Linked DNA regions of Homo sapiens: all the other regions are linked to region 3. The links are contacts of gene promoters, found by promoter capture Hi-C in blood cells and fetal thymus (Javierre and others, 2016). All regions are on one chromosome and are shown on one strand. Each heading gives the region's core, a stretch centred on a gene start or on the middle of the fragment in contact. The rest is flanking DNA. Distances are from core to core; before and after follow the strand shown. Region 1 overlaps SOCS4 (suppressor of cytokine signaling 4). Region 2 overlaps PELI2 (pellino E3 ubiquitin protein ligase family member 2). Region 3 holds the start of KTN1-AS1 (KTN1 antisense RNA 1). Region 4 overlaps PELI2 (pellino E3 ubiquitin protein ligase family member 2).

The links. Contacts are between HindIII fragments. The CHiCAGO score rates a contact against its expected background, and 5 or more counts as called.
Region 1: a fragment that was not itself captured here is called in contact with the fragment with the promoter of KTN1-AS1 in region 3 in 3 of 17 cell types (non-activated CD4 T cells, total B cells and total CD8 T cells); the score reaches 6.1 in non-activated CD4 T cells.
Region 2: a contact is called between a fragment that was not itself captured here and the fragment with the promoter of KTN1-AS1 in region 3, in 1 of 17 cell types (fetal thymus). The highest score is 5.3, in fetal thymus.
Region 4: a fragment that was not itself captured here is called in contact with the fragment with the promoter of KTN1-AS1 in region 3 in 1 of 17 cell types (fetal thymus); the score reaches 5.0 in fetal thymus.

What each region holds. Positions count from the first base shown.
Region 1 is chr14:55,045,491-55,050,985 of GRCh38, forward strand. SOCS4 (suppressor of cytokine signaling 4) reads left to right here. Exons shown (of 3, transcript NM_199421.2): 3 at 1-3,999. Among named protein-coding and RNA genes, the nearest start is that of MAPK1IP1L, 3.4 kb to the right of the region's middle. The HindIII fragment of the contact is 222 bases long and covers 1,832-2,053 here.
Region 2 is chr14:56,193,898-56,199,500 of GRCh38, forward strand. All of the region lies in intron 2 of PELI2 (pellino E3 ubiquitin protein ligase family member 2), which reads left to right. Among named protein-coding and RNA genes, the nearest start is that of PELI2, 78 kb to the left of the region's middle. RefSeq lists an enhancer at 5,295-5,484. The HindIII fragment of the contact is 2,240 bases long and covers 782-3,021 here.
Region 3 is chr14:55,578,617-55,583,493 of GRCh38, forward strand. It overlaps KTN1-AS1 (KTN1 antisense RNA 1), which reads right to left and starts at 1,476. Exons shown (of 3, transcript NR_027123.1): 1 at 1,320-1,476; 2 at 1-121. It overlaps KTN1 (kinectin 1), which reads left to right and starts at 1,591. Exons shown (of 44, transcript NM_001079521.2): 1 at 1,591-1,738. RefSeq lists enhancers at 816-935, 946-1,035 and silencers at 1,476-1,735, 1,796-2,435, 2,615-2,909. The HindIII fragment of the contact is 5,026 bases long and covers 1-4,681 here.
Region 4 is chr14:56,165,724-56,171,073 of GRCh38, forward strand. The region is part of intron 1 of PELI2 (pellino E3 ubiquitin protein ligase family member 2); the gene reads left to right. Among named protein-coding and RNA genes, the nearest start is that of PELI2, 50 kb to the left of the region's middle. The HindIII fragment of the contact is 6,830 bases long and covers 190-5,350 here.

The DNA of each region.
Region 1 (5,495 bases), core at 693-3,192, 530 kb before region 3:
ATTAACTTAGTCTGTAATGTGGCTTCAAAAAAAGAAAGCCTTTTGACAGCTACATGACTTACACCATACAGAACAGTACTGGACAAAAGGGGTGATATTTTAAATTTACTATCCCAGAAACAGGGCAACGTTTTTAGAAACATCTTTAGCCCAAAGTAACTAGTAAAAATAAATGGAGTGGTATCCTATCTTCTTTTTTTAAGGAATCAATGAATAATAAATGTAGATAGACAATTTTCTTCTGGTGAGCTGTCTAACCCTTTGTACACATTGACATTTTTAATATCGTAACTGATTTCTTGATGCTAGTTTAGCTATATTAGGAAACTGCTTCTACCTAGATTGAAAGAAATTTGACTCATAAACTTCCAAGTTAGAACAAATATTTCTTCATTATTGTTGCTTTTATGTGAGTAGCATTTCCCTATCTTGCAGTTCTGTTAACATGAAAATGGCATTTTTCCATAATAGCTTTAAAATAATTTTTTAGTAATTATTACAAAATTAAGGAAAATCTCTATTACCGTTATCTTTTAGCATTTTTTTTTTCCTCAGTGATCTCAAGATTGTCTTAGTCTCAATGAGATGTAGCTACAAAAATGGCACCTCTTAGCAGTGATGAGGCTCAGGATATCGGATATCATAACACCAATGTCAGGATAAATATCTCTTCTAAAGACGATATTTACCTTTTACAAGGTTAGAAAAGTCTCATACTACCTCATCTTTATTGTGGCGCTTTTGTAGATCACTGAGAAGCTTATCTTATTAACCAATATACCACTTCCTAAATATCCATCTTTGGTGAAAGAAAATAGTGTGGTAAGAGTACCCATGATTATAGTTTTTTATCAGAATTTGATAAGATTTTCTGTTTCTGTGAAACAATTATTTTAAATATTTTTCTTTTAAAAATAACTTTTTATCAGTACAGAAAAACCTAAGGGATGACTAGCTTACAAATATTCTGTTAAGGGGTAGTTTTATAAAGAAAAATGATATATAGTTATGTTGTCTTTTATAGTGTTAAAATTAGTATTTATATGAAAGTCAAGATCTAAGTACCTTTTCATATAATTCAAACTGATTGCTTGTGATATGTTTTCTCTGGCTTTTTTATTTTTTCAACTTCAAGGTATTAACAGCTGTTAACACTTAAAAAGTACTGCCACATATGTAGCCTTGAAGTAGTTGATCTAATAAATGAGAGCAGGGAGGAGATTCATTGACTCTGAAATGATTTTTATTTTTCCTTTGGTATTTGCTACAGTGAAAAGAAGTTTGGAAAGTAGATACATAAAGACTTGAGAAGGGAATTGTTTAAGGGAAAAGAAAAGAGTAATAATTTTTTTTAAAACATTAAGGAATTGGAATTCAGAAAGGTTACCCCCTTCCTCTGTGTCTTTGTAAGGATACATTTGGAAGAACATACAGTATTCAGAAACTAACCTATATAAAATGTAAACAATATATTGATTGCACTATATAAATGAGTAAATTTTGAGAGGAACAATGTGGGAATGTATAAATTTGTCTAAAATTTTATAACTGTTGAACAAAGGGAAGATTTGAACAGTGTAAATTCCAGAGTTGAGAAAGCATTTAGCATGGTGGAAATGTGGAGAGCTTATTGGTGAGAGAGGATGGAGCTAAGAGAAATAAGATCAAATATTAAAATTAGGAATTTAGGCATTACCTCAGGGAAAAGCCTTGACAGTGAAAAGAAACTACTTAATCGCTAATAGCTAGTCTGGACCAGACACTTAACTGCGCTTTGGGAATCATCCTGGGCTAATCAGGAAATAAACTTGACTTTTCTATTTTTCTCTGAAGCTTTACAGGACATACTCCCACTCCCATTTTTTTCTAAGCCTACAGCATCTTGATTCATAGTATAATTCCTGAAGTATGCTGAATGGACTTTTTAAGGTTCCTTTAGCATTTTTGTATAGAGTTATATGTGATCTTTCTATAACCATGCCATTCACTTAAATAATTCATGAAGGGAATGGTTTAATTTAAAGGAAGACCTAATAGGAAGAAGATTAAAGGAAGCTTTTAGTCAGCCTGTGGCTAGATTTATTGATTTGGTGATCAAACCTGTGCTATTTCCTGAATTTCAGCTAATGGCCAACTGTGGTCAAAGAATGGCTTTCAGTTAAAGTTTTGACTTCTTATTATAAATAATATAAAGAATGTCTCAGTAATTAGAAATCCCTTAATAAGTAGAACAAATGTGGCAAGTAGGACTCCTATCGGTATACAAATTCCATTTCTTTTTATAAGAAAAACACATAAACCATTATCATTTATTCATGAGCCAAAGCCATTAAGAAGATAAATCCAGTTATCAGCTTCCTGTCTCTGAAGTTTGGATCATTTTATAGATCCACGCAATAGAGAGCTTCCTTCCTATGAAACAAAAACCTTGAGATCTCTTTTTTTTTGAGACAGAGTCTCGCTGTTGTCAGCCCAGGCTGGAGTGCAATGGCGCAATCTCGGTTCACTGCAACCTCTGCCTTCCAGGTTCCAGCAATTCTCCTACCTCAGCTCCCAAGTAGCTGAGATGACAGGCGTGTGCCACCACGCCCAGCTAATTTTTGTATTTTTAGTAGCGATGGTGTTTCACTACATTGGCCAGGCTGGTCTCGAACTCCTGACCTCAGGTGACCACCCGCCTCAGCCTCCCAAAGTGCTGGGATTACAGGCATGAGCCACTGTGCCCGGCCAAGATCTAACTCACGCTTACTTTTCATTAAAATATTTCTTGTCGCTTTTAGCTATTGTCAGAATCCAATAAACAGCTTACGCATTCATTTTGGTAAAGCAAATTTCACAGGAAAATAGACAAAATTATAAGAGATTCCTGGAGACAACACAAGGAAAACAATGTTTAAAAGCAAAATAGCCTGTGTAATGTTAGGTAATGTAATGCCCAAGTGAATAAAAGATTTTTCGTCAAGCAAACTACTGTTTCTACTTTGGGGGAAAAAAGTCAGTTTTACATTTGTAATTTAAGGAAAGAACAGAAAGCACAAAGGTTTTTCTTTTCTTTATTAATGGCCTACTAGAAATGAGCAGTGCAAGAGTCTACCTGTACTATTCTAATACAGTAAGATATTGGACACAAAATGGAGGTAACTTTTTAAAATAGATTGGCTTGGAAGTTGAAATGTAGATTAATGGATATAACCCAATAGAAAGGGATTTTCAAATAAAACCAAAGTCTATTTTTTTATTTACTTTCTAATTTTGAACAGATGACTCAGTCCTAAATCTTTGCCTTTATTTCCTATAAAATGTAGGTGATACTTGTAACTCGACTTCCTGGAGTTAATTCTTCAGCAAGAGGTGACCCTGGGAGCGTACTTTAAAATAATTGCTGTACAGCCATTGAGTACTAACATGATGATAGGTTTTCAAAATATCTTTGTAGTGGATGCTGCATAATTACATTCACTTCTCTTAGACTGTAAAAGACTTTCTTGACTTGTTTTAACAGTAGAGATAGCAGTACAATTTGAATTTATGGTTTAGGCTCTGCAATTAGAGGAACAATTGCAGTTTCCTCCTACCCTTCATATGGTCTGTGTAAAACTGATGTTTGCTTAACTTATTTTAAAAGTTGATTACGTTTTCAGAAAATAAAGATAATCACTTTTGCCATGGTTATAATCAAATCTAAGCTTTCAGACTTGAGAGCCATGGTGTAAAACTCAAGGAGGTTTATTTAAATTATGCTGACTTTGCTAGAATTGGATAAATTCTGTATAAGCCAAGTATGAGTTCACATGTACTCGAATATACAGTTTTCACAAAGCTATTACTCTCATCAGTCAGGCTTGTATGATCTATTCCTTACCACAAAAGAAGTAGACAATTGCCACTTTTATTTCTAATCCTTAAGTTGAATGTTTCTTCTTGGATGTAAGTTCAAATAAATTGATCTGGATAAATTTTCATTTCTACTTAATTAAAACTTCCTATGTAAAATCCAAAGGCTTTGTGTTTTATTTTAAAAACATAGTCTTTACTTCACACATTCAACTTAGAATCTGAAAAAGATAGAGAAACCCATATTCTTACATATTTTCTAATTTATAATACACTCCTTTTAGTTTTTTTGTGTTTGGGACTTCCAGAAGCAGGTGCCAAAATGTGATTAGAGGTGCAAGAGATTTATTTGGAGTGAAACACCTAGAAAGATAGAGAAGGGAGCAGAAGGTGGGGAATTCTTCATACCACACAGAAAGTCTGACACCTAGAAGGAAGGATTGGGTAGGGGAGCTTCGGACTTCAGTGCATCTTGAGACTGCTAGATGAGGACTTGGTTCCCAAGCAAAGGTTGCCTGTAGAGAAGCCCACAGGGACAGGAATGGCCTAGATCTAGACCCCTCCAACGTGCTCAGCTACTGGCTGATTGCAGGCAAGGAAAAGTTGGAGGCTATCCATTACTGGTACACAGCGCCAGGACTAGGGTATGGTGAGGCACTTAGGGACAAATATTTGACTATACGACTAAGGAAGACAATGTTTTGGTACAATATTGTAATATCTGAATTGATGCAAAAAAGCCTATGATGAGCAAGATACCAAATTTCAAATCAAACCTGACCAGATTACTGATTTCTTGTTGCTTCAGGTTTCAGCATGGCTCAAGGCACTGCTGATTCACTGTCACCAGTGAGAACAGGCTAGGTCCACACCAGTCGTGTAATTTTCCATAGGCCTGTGTGCCCTTACCCAAAAATAAGACTCTCGGCTTAGGTATTTGAAGTTCCTCTGTTGCCCCTTTTTCAGTGTGAGAATTGTGTGTGCTGTGGAAAACATCCAGGGATGTCTTCCTTTAAACAAGTTCATGGTTAAATGGCCACCCACTCACTCACTAATGCCTTACACAAAGCAAGATGCAAGTGTACCACATACTTTTAGGATATTTTTATATCTTAAAAAATGTATATTGGCCGGGCACAGTGGCTCACGCCTGTAATCCCAGCACTTTGCCGAGGAGGGCGGATCACAAGATCAAGAGATCGAGACCATCCTGGCCAACGTGGTGAAACCTCGTCTCTAAATACAAAAATTAGCTGGGCAAGGTAGCGCGCGCCTGTAGTTCCGGCTACTTGGGAGGCTGAGGCAGGAGAATCGCTTGAACCCGGGAGGCGGAGGTTGCAGTGAGCCGAGATCGCACCGCGCCACTGCACTCCAGCCTGGCGACAGAGCAAGACTCCGTCTCAAAAAAAAAAAAAAAGTATATTGCATATATGTATATATTTTGCACACCATATAATTATCACGACATCTTTATTGCTAGTTAGTAGGTTCCTTGACTGGGGTCATGTCATCTGTGCCTGACACAGGAGGTAATGTTTATTCAGAAATGAAGATGGCGGCTGGGCACGGTGGCTCACACCTGTAATACCAGCTCTTTGGGAGGCCGAAGCGGGCAGATCGCTTGAGGCTAGCAGGGTGAGACCCCATCTCTATCAAAAACA
Region 2 (5,603 bases), core at 652-3,151, 620 kb after region 3:
CTCCTGTTCACTTTTCCCAATGTGAAAACTGAGACCTAGAGTTACAGGACCTTTCTAGGATTGCTTAGCTAGCTTGAGCCTTGAGCTCTTGTTAATTTTTTCATTGTTGGGGGGTCTTAATTTGGCTTAAGAAGTTGATACAAGTCTTTTACAACGTTGTTCTTTTTTTAAATCTAGTAATTGTTTCTGAACTTTATGGACTTGTACGTCGTAGGAAGCACTGATAAAAATGCAGCTGAGTGTCAGATGCTTTTATTACCTGGAAGCTGGGGCCCTGACTATGAATACACAGTTTACTTCCCACTCGGGCAGCAAGTTTCCTGGCATGTGTCTGCCTCTCTCCCTGCAGGCTCAGGTGCCCCTGTTCCTGTCGTCAGCATCCGGCCCTGCACTGCTGTTGCCCTCTGAATCTCCTCTGTCTTTCCTGTCTTTGGCTGTGGTCTCTTCACTACCTACCCTGTCCAATCTAAGTGAGAAAGCTGCATCACGCTTAAGGTTTTCTTTCCTTAATACCAGGCCCCACTGCCCCAGTGAGTGCCCAGATCCTGCAGAATCTGCTTCTTCACCAGTCGCCATCCCTAGCATGGACATTTGCAGTGGACATTTGTGAATGGACTGATGGATGAGCCACTGATAGTGTTCCCTTCACTGCAGGCCTTAGTATATTCATGCCTGTTAGATGTGACACTTAAGTGCTAAATATACTTTGAAGGTAATGTGGAACCCTCTCTCCATCACATGAAGCATGTCTGCTCAGGGGCATCCCTTCACCCCGCTGAAAAGCTTGAATAATTCTCCATGGTAACTGGATAAGGCAGCCCTGGATAAGGCAGCCCCACGTCCAGAGACTGGCACATGAAGTCTTTCACAGAATGCCCCCCGCCCCGCCCATACCCTTCTAGCCTCCTTTCCACCAGTGCCCATTCCTCTGCCTCAAAATTCAGTCAATGGAGAATTGTAAAAGATTAGTACATTTAGGATCTTGTCTTTTATGTAAGTGAAAATAAGGACCGAGTGTTGATGCTTTGGATTCAAGAGCCAGCTGTGCAAAATTAAAGTATCCTATTATTCACTGTGTGTAATGATGACCCTAATGAATGTGGGATAATTCACTTCCCATTGATGAGAATTCAGTCTAAAACTGTAAACTAGATGCTCATTAATTTAATGCTTTTCCTTGACACATGTTTTGTTTCTACAGCTGTTAGTGAAATGTTTTTAGGCATCTGTGCAGGTGGAAGGATGCATGCAAGCTAAATAAGTCTAGAGGACGAAGAGAATCTCTTTGGTATTCCTTATAACCATCCTTCTAAAAGGGGATCCCCAACCCCCTTCAAAAGCATGCTTCTGGAAGTCTCTTGTGGCTCAGTCTCTACCCTGTTTACTTGTCATATTGTGTCTTTATGTCTGCTTCTCACCATTTTGCCATTCTCATTTTCTAGTAGGGACGTGGGCATGGAGAGACAAAACACCGGAACTGCCAGGAGAGAGCAGAGCTTCCCCTTCCTGTGAGCAGCCCTGGGTGGTCCTACCCCCTCCCCTCACAGCTGGTTTGAGGCTGAAGCAGCTTTCCACTGCATCTGTCCACCGAGGCAGTTCTGAAGCTAGTTGGGCCTTTTAATGGCCGTAAAACAGAATTGCTGTGTGGAAGGCCTTTCAGCAATTTAGCTAAAGGCTTTAGAGGCAGTGGAGATCTTTTCACTTACGAATAGTGGCACTAATGAAACAGGTGGGGATACCTTTCCTCTAAATGCTGCCATTCTCTGTGTTCAAACACTGCAAACCCCTCATCCGGAGAAACTTTCCCACCTTGGCTGTGTTAGTCCATATTAAACCGTTTGTTAAGTTTGGGAGCGGTTCTACAGAGATCTTCTGGTTGTTTAAATGTGAATCAGATGTCAAAAAGCCTAATCTGCCCAGCTGGCAGTTTGGGCCCCAGTCTCAGAGGCTGCACATGTGCGCAAGCCGTGATTGGCAGGTGTGGTTTCAGGCAGCATGTGACAGTGCTCCGGACAGGAGAGCATGGCCTCTGCAAGTGTATTCCCAGCTGGCAGGATGTGGCTTTTATTTAACTGCAAAATGTCAGTTTATCATTACTGGGCGTGGGTAGAGAAGGAGGGACTCTGTACAATTAAGTGTTTACTCAGCAGGTGACTACAATAAGTACAGAAATGGTTAAAATGTTATGACTGTGATTTTTAAGTACAATTTCTAGGATTGTGGAGGTTACATTGTATAAATAGGATTAATACCAAATGAATTTAAAGGCTACAGAGAAGAGATTCCCTAGGAGTAACTCCCCACCCCTCCTTAAAATAACGATGTCTGTTTCTTTCCAAAGCATGTTTTCGTTTTGTTTTTGTTTTGAGGGGTTTTTCGGTGAAATTGTGAACCCTGAAACTAGTGTGTCTGGCATTTATTTCTGGAGAAGGCCCTTCTAAGTCTGTGTTTACTAAGCAATTTGAGCCACAGAAAACTTTTAGTCTCTGATAATTTGATATCTGGTGATGAGACAGTAATTACATCACTATTTCTAGGTTGGTAATCTTTGCTTTGGAAAATGTGTAATCCTCTGCTTCAGACATACTCAGTGTGGATCCATCACAGATGTGGCTGAAAGAAAAAAATCTGCAACCTCTTGCTTTTGTACATTCTTTTCTCTTGCCAAAGCTGTCTTGCCCTCTGCACTGTGATTGTATTATACTGCCCATTTGAAAAATGGCCGATAGGATCATTTTAAAATCATAATCTTTAAAAAATATTTTTACTTTAGGAACGTTTGTCTTAATTTTTGCCGATATGGTGTGTTAAGATTAGAATCTGTTAATTTCCTGACATTTATTAACTACGTGATATTTAAATTCCTTGCCTATTTTTGAATTGTATTGTTTGACTTCTGTTTTTTAATTTGTAGAATCTGTTATATGTGTTGCATATATTTTGTTTATCTTTTAACTTTGTTCATGGTGTCTCATCTCATACTTGAGTTGGGTATAATCAAATCTGGAATTTTCTCACTTAAGCTTTATAAGTTTCTTGTTTTGCATAAGAAGTGCTTATCTATCTCAAGGTTTATGTAACATATTTTTTCAGATACTTTAAGTATTTTATTCTAGGTGTTTAGATTTTTCTTGCATTAGAATTTTTTGTTTATTTAATTAATATTAATTGAGCATCTGCTGTGTGCCAGGCCCTGGGCTCTGCATGGGATGAGTTAAGACAAACATGGTCCCTGCACAAATGGAGGTTGTAGGGTCAGAGGCAGGCAATAAATAAGAAATCAAACAAATAAATATATAATATTCATTGGTGCTCAGCACTGTCAAGGAAACAAACAGTGGAGAATACTGTGAGGGCCAGGGACACATATTTAAGTTTTGATGAGTTATGAAGGCATACATAGAGTTTAGTCTTGCAAACAGAGAGGGGCAGAAGTGTAACTGTCAGCATATTCTAAGACTCTGAGGCAGGCTTGAGGGCTGGTTAGTGGGGAGTTGGAGCTTGGGATGAGATGAGGGTACAGTCAAGTCTTGTTCATGGGCCTTGGCTTTAATCTGGTTGCAATAGGAAGCTGTTGGGTGTTTGGGGAGACATTTATGCATGAAGCGGGTGTTCTGGCTTTGATATGGAAGGAAAGGATGGAAGCACAGAGACCAGTTAGAGCCTGTTGCATTGGCTTAGACCAGAAATGAAGTGGCTTAGACTAGTGTAATGGTTAATTGTATGTGTTAACTTGGCTGGGCCATTGTGCCTAGATTTGTGGTCAGGTGTTATTCTCAATGTTTCTGTGAAGGTGTTTTTGGATGAGATTAACATTTAAATCTCTAGACTTTGAGTAAAGCACATCAGGTAAAAGCTTGCATAGAACGAAAAGATTAACCCAATCCAAGCAAGAGGGAATTATCAGCAGATGGCCTTCAGACTTGAACTGCAGTCTTGGTTCTTTCTGGGGTCTCCGGCCTGCCTGTGCACACACACACACATGCAGACACACACACCAGGAATGGTGACTGGTGAAGACACACACACACACACACACACACACACACACCAGGGATCATGACTGGTGAAGACACACACACACACACACACACACACACACACACACACACACACCCACCTCTTTGGTCCACTTCTCTAGAGAACCCTGACTAATACAACTAGGATGGTGGGAGTAGAAGTACAGAGAAGCGAATATATCTTTGAGGAAGAAGCAACGGGACTCTCTCAGAGGAATAATTAATTGATTGTAATGTATGGATGATGATGCCATTCAAGGCAAAAAAGAGGAGCCGGTTTAAGGAGAAACTCAAAGAGTTTGGTTTGGGTCTTGTGTAGTCTGAGATGCCAGTGAGATATGAGGGGAAGAGTTGAGGGCACAAATTGGATACATGAATCTGGAATTCAACCATGTAGAGAGGGGCAGAAGATTTAGGACTGAGCATTGGTGAATTCATCCTTTAGACAAAGGCTGAAAAGGAGTGACCAGGAAATAGGGAGGAGAACCCAGAGAGCGTGGCATCATGGAGCATGAGAGGAGTGTGCCTAAGGCAGACTGGAGTAGCTGACAACATCACATGCACTGAGTGAGTCCAGTGAGATGCGACTTAAAGGAAGGGACTTAGATTTGACCACTTGCAGGTTGGTGGCTATGGTGGCTAAGGCAAATCTGATGGAGCAGCGGGGACAGTGTCCAGCATGGAGTGGCTGAGCCATAAGCAGGAGATGAGCAAGTGCAGAGCCCACATGTGACAGCTCTTTGGAACAGATGTGCAGTGATGGGGAGTAGCAAAACTAGGGAGGGCTTGGGGGTCATGACTTTTTAATGATGGATGATAGGAGAGCATGCTTATATGCTGATGGAGATGACCCAGTATGGTGGGATATTGATGACAAGTAGAGAGAGGGTATAAATGGTTCTTGTTTTCTATCTATTCATTGGTCAATTTTGGTACTTTTATATTTTGTTAGAAAATCTTCCATCTACTCTGGATTTTTGACAAAGTGAATAATGTTCACTTTATTTTAATCATTAGTGTCTGTAATTATATCACCTTGTCTGTTCCTAATTTTGTATATTTTTTGTTCTTCTTTTCTTGCTTAAATAGCTTTTGTTTTACTCATATTTTCAAAGAGCCAGCTTATGACTTCACTTACTTTTTCTACTGTTATTTTCTTAAGTTTTATTAATTTTACCTTGTATCTTTCCCCCTTCCTCCTACAAGAATTCTGTAAACAAAAACAATTTTATTACTATCATGTGTGAGCCAAAAGTTTCTCTCTTGCTGCCCAAGGTCTTCCCCCATGAGAGTCATCATGTGATGCTTCTGGGTTGTCCTTAGTGATTGTCCTGAGTGTCTCCACATGCCCATATTTGGAAACTGAATGTAGCGGTTCTGCCTGGGCTCTAATCTCCATTTACTTCTGTTCTGTTTTTGTTTATACAAGAGACGGTCTGGCCTGGTCATTTCTCGTCTTGGTATGTTACTGCTGAGTCACAGTTCAGTTAACCAAGAACCATGAGAATGAAAGTTCTCAACTAATCACAGACGGTAGATTCCCCAATGCAATGAAAAACTCTTCTTTATATCAGGAATATTAAA
Region 3 (4,877 bases), core at 226-2,725:
AGGGACTAACGGCTTCGCTTTTCAACAAAGCTGGATCTTCTGGCACACGCTCAGAAGATAGCCAGTACTTCAGAGACAGATTGCTTTGAGGGCACTGGAACCGCTGAGGGGCAGAGTAATCCTAATGAGAAAGAAAAAAGAGGACGCCTCTGGAGTTAAAATAAGACAATGCATCTGTGGAGAACACGGTGACTGAAGACTGGCAGAATTCTCAATATCTCAGGCCACTATACACTGCGCAGTTTTCATTTGTATTTTGGAGGTGCTCTAGAAAACTTAGAAATGATTAGAATAAAAAGTATGGATACTTTTAACCAGCCCATGTACAGGAAATTCTGTTGGTGTAGAAACGGTTCTGCTGTTCATTCCTTAACTGCTTCTGTTCCCACTTTGTCAGATGTAGGGCGAGGTGGTGGTGGTGAGTCCTAATTTTTTCTATCTCTATCCACAGTCTGGAATCGTTAGGATTATTTTAAGCCTTCATAACATTTGCGGACAGCTTGGAGTGTTTTGTACATGTAGTGGGGCAGTGCCTGGCCTCCTGTGAGAGATTGATCATCGGTAAACAATCCACACGAAACTCACTTGCCAGTGGACGGGGAGGATCGCTGCCATCCTTTCAGCAAAGAGCAAACGAATAAGGAGAGATCCGGGCCCATCCCTCCTCGCGCAGCAGTTTCTAGATTTTTACCCCGGCTTCATAAATGGCTACCAGCTGGCAGTCACAACACTTTCATAATGTTTGCACACAACTCATTTGGGTCGCTTTCTTTTCTTTCCTTTTTTTTTTTTTTTTTTTGAGAGAAACGGAGAGTCTTACTCTCTCGCCCAGGCTGGAGTGCAGTGGCGAGATCTCGGCTCACTGCAACCTCCGCCTCCTAGATTCCTGCGATTCTCCTGTCTCAGCTTCCCAAGTAGCTGGGGCTACAGGCGTGCGCCACTATGCCCAGCTAATTTTTTGTACTTTTTTTGGCAGAGACGGGTTTTACTATATGTTGGCCAGGCTGGTCTCGAACTCCTGACCTCAGGTGATCCGCCTGCCTTGGCCTCCCAAAGTACTGGGGTTACAGGCGTGAACCACCGCGCCCGACCATTATTTGGGTCGCTTTCTAATTTCTTTCTCCGTTTGTAGCTAGCGTTGCCCGAAGGAGATTTCAGAGAGATCCCCTGGAGAAAGGGACGGGGGATGTCGTTTTCCAGTAATTTCTGGGGGAAATCTGGGATAGTCAGGGGGTAAATCTAGTGCCGTTTGCTGAAGTTAAAAGGCGTGGGGAGCCAGGTGGTGCCCTGGAGGGAGGGCCGCGCGAGACGAGACCAACCTTCGGGACAGGGGAGAGCGGGGCTACTGAACGCAGGGGATTCCGCTGAGCCTCCAGCCCCTGAGCGTCCACCTTCGGCCCAGCTGGGGGACGCGGTCTCGGGAAGAAAGCCCGGAATCCCGAGCCGGCCAGCCGCGAGCAGCGAGTACCGGAGCGCGTGGGCAGGCGCGCGGAGGCAGAGGCGGGCCGGCGGCTGTCCCTTTAAGGGGCCGGTCTCCCGGCGCCGCCGGCCCAGACGCCAGGACGTGCCGGGTCCGCCCCGCCCCGCCCCGAAGCCGCCCGTTTCCTGCCGAGCGGCGCGACGGCACCTGAGCGACTGCGGCGGCGGCGGCGGCGGCGGCGGCGCCTCGGAGCGGGCGGCCCGGGCTGTAGTGCCGGCGCCGCCGCGTCTTCCCGGTCTCCTTTCCCGGCCGCACAGGGTGAGGGAGAGCAGGCCGCACCGGGACGGGCGCCGGCGGCGGGGAGCGCGGGGGGAGGCGGCGCCGGCCGCGGGGTCCTGGGGCAGGCGGGAGGGCCGCGCCGGGCGGGGGGGCGCGGCCGCGGGGCCCGGACGCCGCCCGCTGGGTAGGCCTCGGGCATCCGGTTGCCGCCGCGGGGCTCTTGTTGGGGCCGGGACGCCGCAGGGGGCGGGCTCGGAGGGACCTCCTCGGCCTCGCGGGGCCGCTCTGGGCCCGACCCCGGCTCTGTCGCGGCACCCGGGGCGCGGCCGAGGGACACCCCCCACCCTCCCCAAGGACGACTCTCCCGAAGGCGAGGTCGACCCGAGCGGGCCCTGGGGTGACCGAGGCACCTATTTTTAGCCAAGCCTGAGGGCCCCCGGGAGGGAAGGCGGATTACCGCCTCCTCGGCCGGTGGACGGAGGCAGCGCGTCTCCGGCGGCGTCCCCGGGCCGGAGCTGGGCCACACTTACGCCATGCTGGAGTTCCAGTCCTCGCCGCTGCCTCCGGCGGTCTGGGCGCTCGCCCCCTTCCCCGGCGCCCCTCCCGCTGCCCTTTGCGAGTCCCCAGGTCAGGGCGGGAGGCGGTTGGGCACGGAAAGCAGCATGAGGGGGGACTTTGGAAAAATCCATGGACCACTCTCGACACCGGCGAAGTTATCCCTTCCTGTCCCCGAGGGGTGTGTCCTAGCGATTCGGCCTGACCCCTTCAGTTTCCAAAAGTGAGATTTTTGGCCTTGGGGACCTCGCCGGAAAACTACGCGGGAAGTCTAGAGAAGTCGTCTGGCTCTCAGCCATACGTCTGGTGTGGGATGTGCAGCCCCGCATGCTGGCGGTGAAGGCGCTGGGTGCACTAGATGTGGGCAGCCCCGGACGCGGGCAGCGGCGTCCCAGCCGGCCCCAGTTGCACCTTGACTAGGTTAGGTTGAAAGTAAGCTGTTCAGTGTTGGCCCTTCTTTCCTGTGGGAGGAAGGAGGAATCTAAATTCAGAACTGTGTTGGCAAACGGATTCCTTAGCCGCTATTTAAGTTAGTAGTGCTTAAAGAGCTACGGTTGAAGTTAACTGTTAAGGTGTGTGTGTGTGTGTGAGTGTGTGTGTGTGATGACTTTGTGGAAAGCCTTGAGTAAAGAGCTACGGTTGAAGTTAACTGTTAAGGTGTGTGTGTGTGTGATGACTTTGTGGAAAGCCTTGAGAAATGTAGACACTCATGGCCAGCCCAGCTAAAGATAAGCATCTTCGGTGAACTAAAGGTTCTGAATTGTATAGGAGTTGACTTAAAGTTAGAATTTTTGCTAAATTAGGTTGCATTTGTTTTCCTTAGCTTACCTAGCAGGCTAATGGCAACAGTGTCTCCAGTTTGGTCCGAAGCAATTGCTGGTGAGACTTGGGATAATGATCCCAAGCTGGTGAGACTTGGGATAATGATCCCAAGAATAACACTAAATTACTCTTGAGTATTTTGGGTAGACATGCCTTGCAGTAGACTTTCATATTTGATGTGCTGCCTGATAAAAAAGGCTCTTTTTTTTTTTCCTTTTTCCTTTTTTTTTAGTTTAAGGATCTAACCTGAAATAGCTGGGTCTGTTCATGAGTTTCCCTCCCACCCCAACATTGAGTTTCAAATGTCTCTTCTAATTTTGTAGCCTTCATCAGACATAACAATACCTTATCAAGTGAGCTTAGAGAATAAGGTGTTCTACTTGATTTACTTGAGGCTGATAATGAATTTGAAAATATAACAAGATCTATTGAAAAATTTTCTTAATACTTGAAAATTATAAAGAATATCAAGTATTTAACTCTTAATGATTCAGCGTCAGCATTATGAAGAGACATTTACGATTTTGTTTCCAATTTAGATCTTTCTGTATTCTTTTAATACCAGTAGTCTCTTCTGTTTGATGTTGTGTTTGTCCCTAAAAATGCCTCACTTCAGTCTCCCTTCTAGTTTATAGGCTTTAATCTGCTTTTGGTAGGGAGATCGTTTTAATAATTATATTTTTAATATCAGTCAATATGGCTTTTTAAAAGAGCCTAAGACGTGAAAACCTTTTTGAGACTTCTAAAGAACCCATATTAAGATTGTCACTGTTCTTAAGTTCTTAACTTGAATGTTAAGTTATGGTTAAAAGTTCTTAATCAGCCTGTCATGGTTAAGATGACACGTAGAATACTGAATCATAATTGTTTTTTTAAAAGTTGAATGTGTCTTATACATTTCCTATGTGTAAGTTAATTTCTTAACTTGAATGGAACATGTGTTTTTAATTGTATGCCTATAATTTTTATAGCAAATGAAGTTTTAACCTGAAAGATCTCCAATACTTTGTTAAAATATTAAATTGTTAATGAACTTAAGTGGTTCTAGGAAGGTTTTGGTTCTCTTGGGAATCTGACCTAATATGTAATAAGGAAATGAGAAAAATCGTGCTTTGCAAGATCGTTCATATATTTGAGAATACACCTTATGACCTGCTTGTTCTCTGTACTGTTTTTAGTGACTTTGAAGGTAAATCCAGAGTATACTTAGAGGATACAAGCAAGTAACTATTTCTCTAGAAGTGACATTGGTGATCACTCATGCTCAAAGAGAATTGCATTTCATTGCTTCCTCTTTCAGTTCCTGTGAACATGACTTTGTCCCAATCAAAAAATGTAATTTATTTTCAAATCACTGGGAAAATATTGGTCTAGATGAGAATATAAGCCTTTTTCCCTCCTCTATAAATAGAAAATTAAACATTAAGGGGAAGAACCTTATGTGCTGTGAACTAAGGGGTTTAATTTAACCTTCTGTATCTGAGGTCTAGAGAAAGAGAAATAATGACAGTTTACAACTGTGTGCCGAGCTGTTGTGCTTAAATGTGTTTTTGACAGAGGTGGCAGTGAAAACTAGGCTATTTTTCTTTTTTAAAAAATGGTACAAGCTTTTAATTGGTTTTATGTAAAAGAAAATAGGCAAGATATACTTTTAATTCTAACAATAGTTTTAGTAGATACTCTGATAGGAAATATAATATTCCTCGGAAATGTAGAAGACATACCCTAAAAAAAGTTATGATTTAGTATTTTACGAATCGTCCTAGCTACTACAGGGAGATTAAGAACTCTTCCGTAACTT
Region 4 (5,350 bases), core at 2,355-4,854, 590 kb after region 3:
ATCTAAAGGGGCTGAGTTGGCCCCTTTATCGTTATATAGTGACCGTCTTTGTCTTTTCTTACAGTTTTTTTCTCGAAATCAATTTTGTCTGACATAAGTATAGCAACTCCTGCTCTTTTTTGGTTTCCATTGGCTGGAATAACTTTTTCTATCCCTTTATTTTCAGTCCATATGTGTCTTTATAGATGAAGCTTGTTTGTTGTAGGCAACAGATCAATGGGTCAGATCAATGGGTCTTTACATTAAATGTAAATAGACTAAACTCTCATTATTAATAAGGGTTTCTGCCATTTTGTTATTTATTTTGTGGTTGTTACATGGTCTTCTCTTCCTTCTTTTCTTCTTGTCTTCCTCTAGCGAAGGTGATTTTCTCTGGTGATATGACTTAGTTTCTTGCTTTTTGTATATCTGTTGTATGTTTTTTGATTTGAGGATAACATGAGGCTTGCAAATACTATCTTATAACCGGTTATTTTAACCCAATAACAACCACTATTTGCATAAACAAACAAAAAGAAAACTAAGAAAAATGCTATGCCTTAACTTTGCCACCCCTCCACCTGCTTTTTAACTTTTTGTTGTTCTGTTTATGTCTTATTGTACTGACTATGTCTTGAAATGTTGATATAGGTATATTTTTGATTGGTTCATCTTTCTACTTAGGATAAGAGTAGTTTACACACCATAGTTAGTGTTAATAATATTCTGTGTTTTTCTGTGTACTTACTGTTAGTTGTGAATTTTGTACCTTCAGGTGATTATCTATTGCTCATTAATGTCCTTTTCTTTCTGATTGAAGTACTCCATTTAGCATTTCTTGTAGGAGGGGTCTGGTATTGATGAAATTTCTCAGCTTTTGTTTGTCTGGGAAAGTCTTTATTTCTTCTTCATCTTTGAAGGATTTTTTTTCTAAATATACTATTCTAGGGTAAAGTTTTTTTCCTTCAGCACTTTATGTCATGCTACTCTTCTCTGGCCTCTGAGGTTTCCACTGAAAAGTCTGCTGCCAGACATATTGGAGTTCCATTGTATGTGATTTGTTTGTTGATTGGTTTTTTTTTCTTTCTTTTTTTTTATTTCTTGAGACGGAGTCTCGCTCTGTCTCCCAGGATGGAGTGCAGTGGCACGATCTCAGCGCACTGCAAGCTCCATCTCCTGGGTTCACGCCATTCCCCTGCCTCAGCCTCCTGAGTAGCTAGGACTACAGGCGCCTGCCACCACGCCTGACTATTTTTTGTGTGTTTTTTAGTAGAGACAGCATTTCACCATGTTAGCCAGGATGGTCTTGATCTCCTGACCTCATGATCCGCCCGCCTCAGCCTCCCAAAATGCTGGGATTACAGGCGTGAGCCACCGCGCCTGGCCTAGGATCCTTTCTTTGTTCTTGACCTTTGGGAGTTTGATTATTAAATACCTTGAGGTATTCTTCTTTGGATTAAATCTGCTTAGTGTTCTATAATCTTCTTGTAGTTGGATATTGCTATCTTTCTTTAGATTTGGGGAGTACTCTGTTATTATCCCTTTGAATAAACTTTCTATTCCTATCTCTTTCTGTACCTTCTCTTTAAGACCAATAATTCTTAGATTTGCCCCTTTGAGGCTATTTCCAAGATCTTGTAGGCATGCTTTTTTTGTTTTTTATTCTTCTTTCTTTTGTCTCCTCTGTATATTTTCAAATATCCTGTCTTCAGGCTAACAAATTCTTCAGCTTGATCCACACTGCTATTAAAGGACTCTGATGCATTCTTCAGTACACCAATTGCACTTTTTCAGCTCCAGAATTTCTGCTAGATTTTTAATTATTTCAGTCTGTTTGTTAAATTTATCTGGTAGAATTCTGAATTCCTTCTCTGTGTTATCTTGAATTTCTTCGAGTTTCCTCATAAACAGCTATTTTGCATTCTCTGTGTGAAAGGTCACATATATTTGTTTCTCTATGTTTGGTCCCTGGTGCCTTATTTAGTTCATTTGGTGAGGTCATGTTTTCCTGGATCGTGTTGATGCTAGTAGATGTTCTTCAGTGTCTGGGCATTCAAAAATTAGGTACTTACTGTAGTCTTCACTTTCTGGGCTTATTTGTAGCCCTCCTTTTTGGGATGGCTTGCTGGATATTTGAAAGGACTTAGGTGTTGTGATCTAAGCTATATCGGCTTTAGGGGGCACTTCAGGCCCAGTAACACTGTGGTTCTTGGAGACTCAGAGAGAAACTGCCTTGATGGTGTTGCACAAAATCCAGGAGAATTCTCTGGATTGCCAGGCAGAGACTCTTTTTCTCTTCTCTTACTTTCTCCCAGCCATACAGAGTCTCTTTCTCTTCTGAGCCACCTAACGCTGGGGGTGGAGTGACACAAGCACCCCTGTGGCCAGCACCACTGTGACTGCACTGGATCAGACCTGGAGCCAGCACAGCATTGGGTCTTGCCCAAGGCCTGCTGTAACTATTCCCTGGCTACTGCCTATGTTCACTCAAGGCTCTGGGGCTCTGTAATCAGCAGGTGGCAAAACCAGCCAGGCTGTGTCCTTCCCTTCTGAGCAGCGTGCCCCCCCCCAGACCCTGGGTGGGTCCAAAAGTGCTGCCCTGATGTCAGGGACTAGAGTCAAAAACCTTAGAAGTCTACCTGGTGTTCTATTTTATTGTGGCTGAGTTGGCCCTCAAACTAGAAGGTGCAGTTCTTCCTGTTCTTGCCTTCCATTTCCAAAGGCAGAGAAGCCTTACCCCTTAGCCACTGCCACCCTAGGCCATGAGGAGTACTGCCAGACTACTGCCAATGTTCCCTTACGGCCTAGAGTCTCTTAAGTCAGCTTGTTGTGAATGCTGCCTGGCCTGGGACTCACCCTCAGGGCAGTGGGGTCCCCTTTGGTCCAGGGAAGGACCAGAAATGCCATCCAAGAGTCAAGTCCTAGAATCAGGGACCCCAAGATTCTGCTTGGTGCTCTACCCCCCTGTGGCCGTGCTGGTACGTAAGGTGCAAGACAAAGTGCCCTTTGCTTTTCCCTCTGCCTTTGTCAAGCAGAAGGAGTTTTGCCCCATAGCTACCACAGCTGGGAATGTGCTGAGTCTCAACAGAAGCCAGCAAGTCTCACCAGAAGCCACCAAGGCCCTTGATGTAGTACCTGGGTATCACTGCTGGTTATTCAGGGTTCAAGGGCTCTTCAGTTAACAGGTGATGAATTCTGGCAGGACTGGGTCCTTCCCTTCAAGGCAGTGGGTTCCCTTCTTGCCCAGGTTGTATCTAGAAATGTCATCTGGGAGTTAGGGCCTGGAATGGGGACCTCATGACTCTGACTGGTGCCCTATCCTGCTGCGGCTCAGCTGTTATCCAAGATGCAAGACAAAGTCCTCCCCACTCTACCGTCTCCTCTCTTCAGTTGGACAGAAGGAAAGGGTCTCTTTTGGAGCCACAAGCTGTGCAGCCTGAGGTTAGGGGAGGGGTGATGCCAACACTCCCTGGGCTGTTCCAGCTGGTGTCTAAGTATGTCATGTGTCCCTCCTCTCCCTGCCGCCAAGCCCACGGTCTCTGGGCCTAGCTCATCACTAGGACTCACCTAAGAGATGCAGTCCTTCTGGCCTCGACTGCCCTCCAAGTTTACATGGAGACACAGAGCACTGTATCCCTTGGTGGTGAGGTTTGCGGGGACTCAAGTTCAGACCACTGGATAGGCGATTGGCCAGGGCTGGTTTAAATGCTCCCTCCGTGGTTGGGCGTCAGCTGAGTTGGTCTGGTGTTCCTTTTGCTCTAACAGAACAGCACTTAGTTCAATGCCTCACCATTACTGTGCTCTCCCTCCTCAGCTCCCAGAGAAGCTCTTAGCACTAGGCTTGTTGCTGCTGCGTGGGGTGTGGAAGGGATGGTGTCAGTGATTCAGGACTGTTTCTTCTGTCTCTTCTAGAGCCTCTTTCAGTGATAATGAAGTTAAAACCAGGTATTATCAGTGCTTACTTGATTTTTGGTTCTCATGAAGGTGTTTTTTCTGTGTAGATAGTTGTTAACTTGGTGTCCTTGTGAGGTGGGACAATGGGTGGAGCCTTTAATTCTGCCATATTGCTCCGCCTCCTCCTATATGCAGCATTTCTTAAGCAAAGAGAAATAAACGTTGTTGCGTTTCTGGGCTTTATAGTCCATTGGGTCAGGGGAAGTCCATGCATATATGATAGGTTAAATAATAAGAGGGTTGGGACTATAATTTCATAAAACCAATGTTAGGCGCTTATTGGCATATGGGCATTTCCTTAAACGCGGTTGGAATAGTGCATTTATACAGTGAGTTAGGGTGAGCTACCTCAAGACTGGTGCCAGATTGCAGGGTTTTCTCAGAGACTGTGTGCCCTGCCTTTGAGTCTGTCTGTCTCTAGTGTCACGTCCTGTTCATCTGCAGTGTACAGTCTACTTTGATCATAGTAGTTGCTTGTGATTTGTTGGTGCAAGTGACAGAGCAGTTGCTTTGGAAGGAAGGCGGAGTCTTCAGCCTGTAATGAAGAGCTGACCACCTCTGGAATGTGATCCTGTGATGCTGATGCAACCTCCACTTCTGGAGCCCACATCGCTTCCATTCCATGTGGATGTCGCTGTAAGAGTTCAGGCTAGTTAAGATAAACCGTGACGTCTCCAAAATGTGACTGGGAGCACCTAGCATCCCCCTTCTTGCTCTGGTTTCCCTTAGAAAATTCTTATTGACAAATACATTTTTAGGTGGCAGACATCTTTTTAAGACTCCATCTTTGCACTGTATGCCAAAAAATGTCTTGAATTTAAAAACTGTCAGTGTTGTCTACTGGAAAGAGTATGAAATTTGGAGTCAGACAGAACTGATGTAGCTTTAGGTTCTGCCTGACATTTCCTAACTGTGTAAGTTCGTGTGTGATCAGCCATTCTGAGCCTTTTATCTGTCCACTAGGAGTAATAATGTCTCCTTCACAGGGTTTCTTGGCACATAGTAAGTGTACAGCAAATGTTATTAATTCCCATTAATATGTGAATTAATATATGAACTCTAAACTATAAAACAGAAAAACCCTTTATTACTTGGTTAAGTTTCTTACACAGCATTTTCATTATTCTTTGCAGCTCCCAAATACCCTTACTGTAAAGACCAACTGTTTGCTCTGCATATATGAAGAGTTAAATTTTCATCACACATTTATTAAATAACTGTTTTTAAGTCTCCAGAATAAAAAAGAAAGTTAAGCCTGAAAGGCTCTTATGGGCTCGAATTGAAACACCCCTGTTGCAGCAGCTGAAACAGGTGTGGCAGCAGCACTCGGACATTTTATTTCTACAAACTTACTGGCTGAAAAGCGTGCCAGCCCAGGGAACGTTCTGACCTTCTTTCATGGGACAGTAACTTTTTG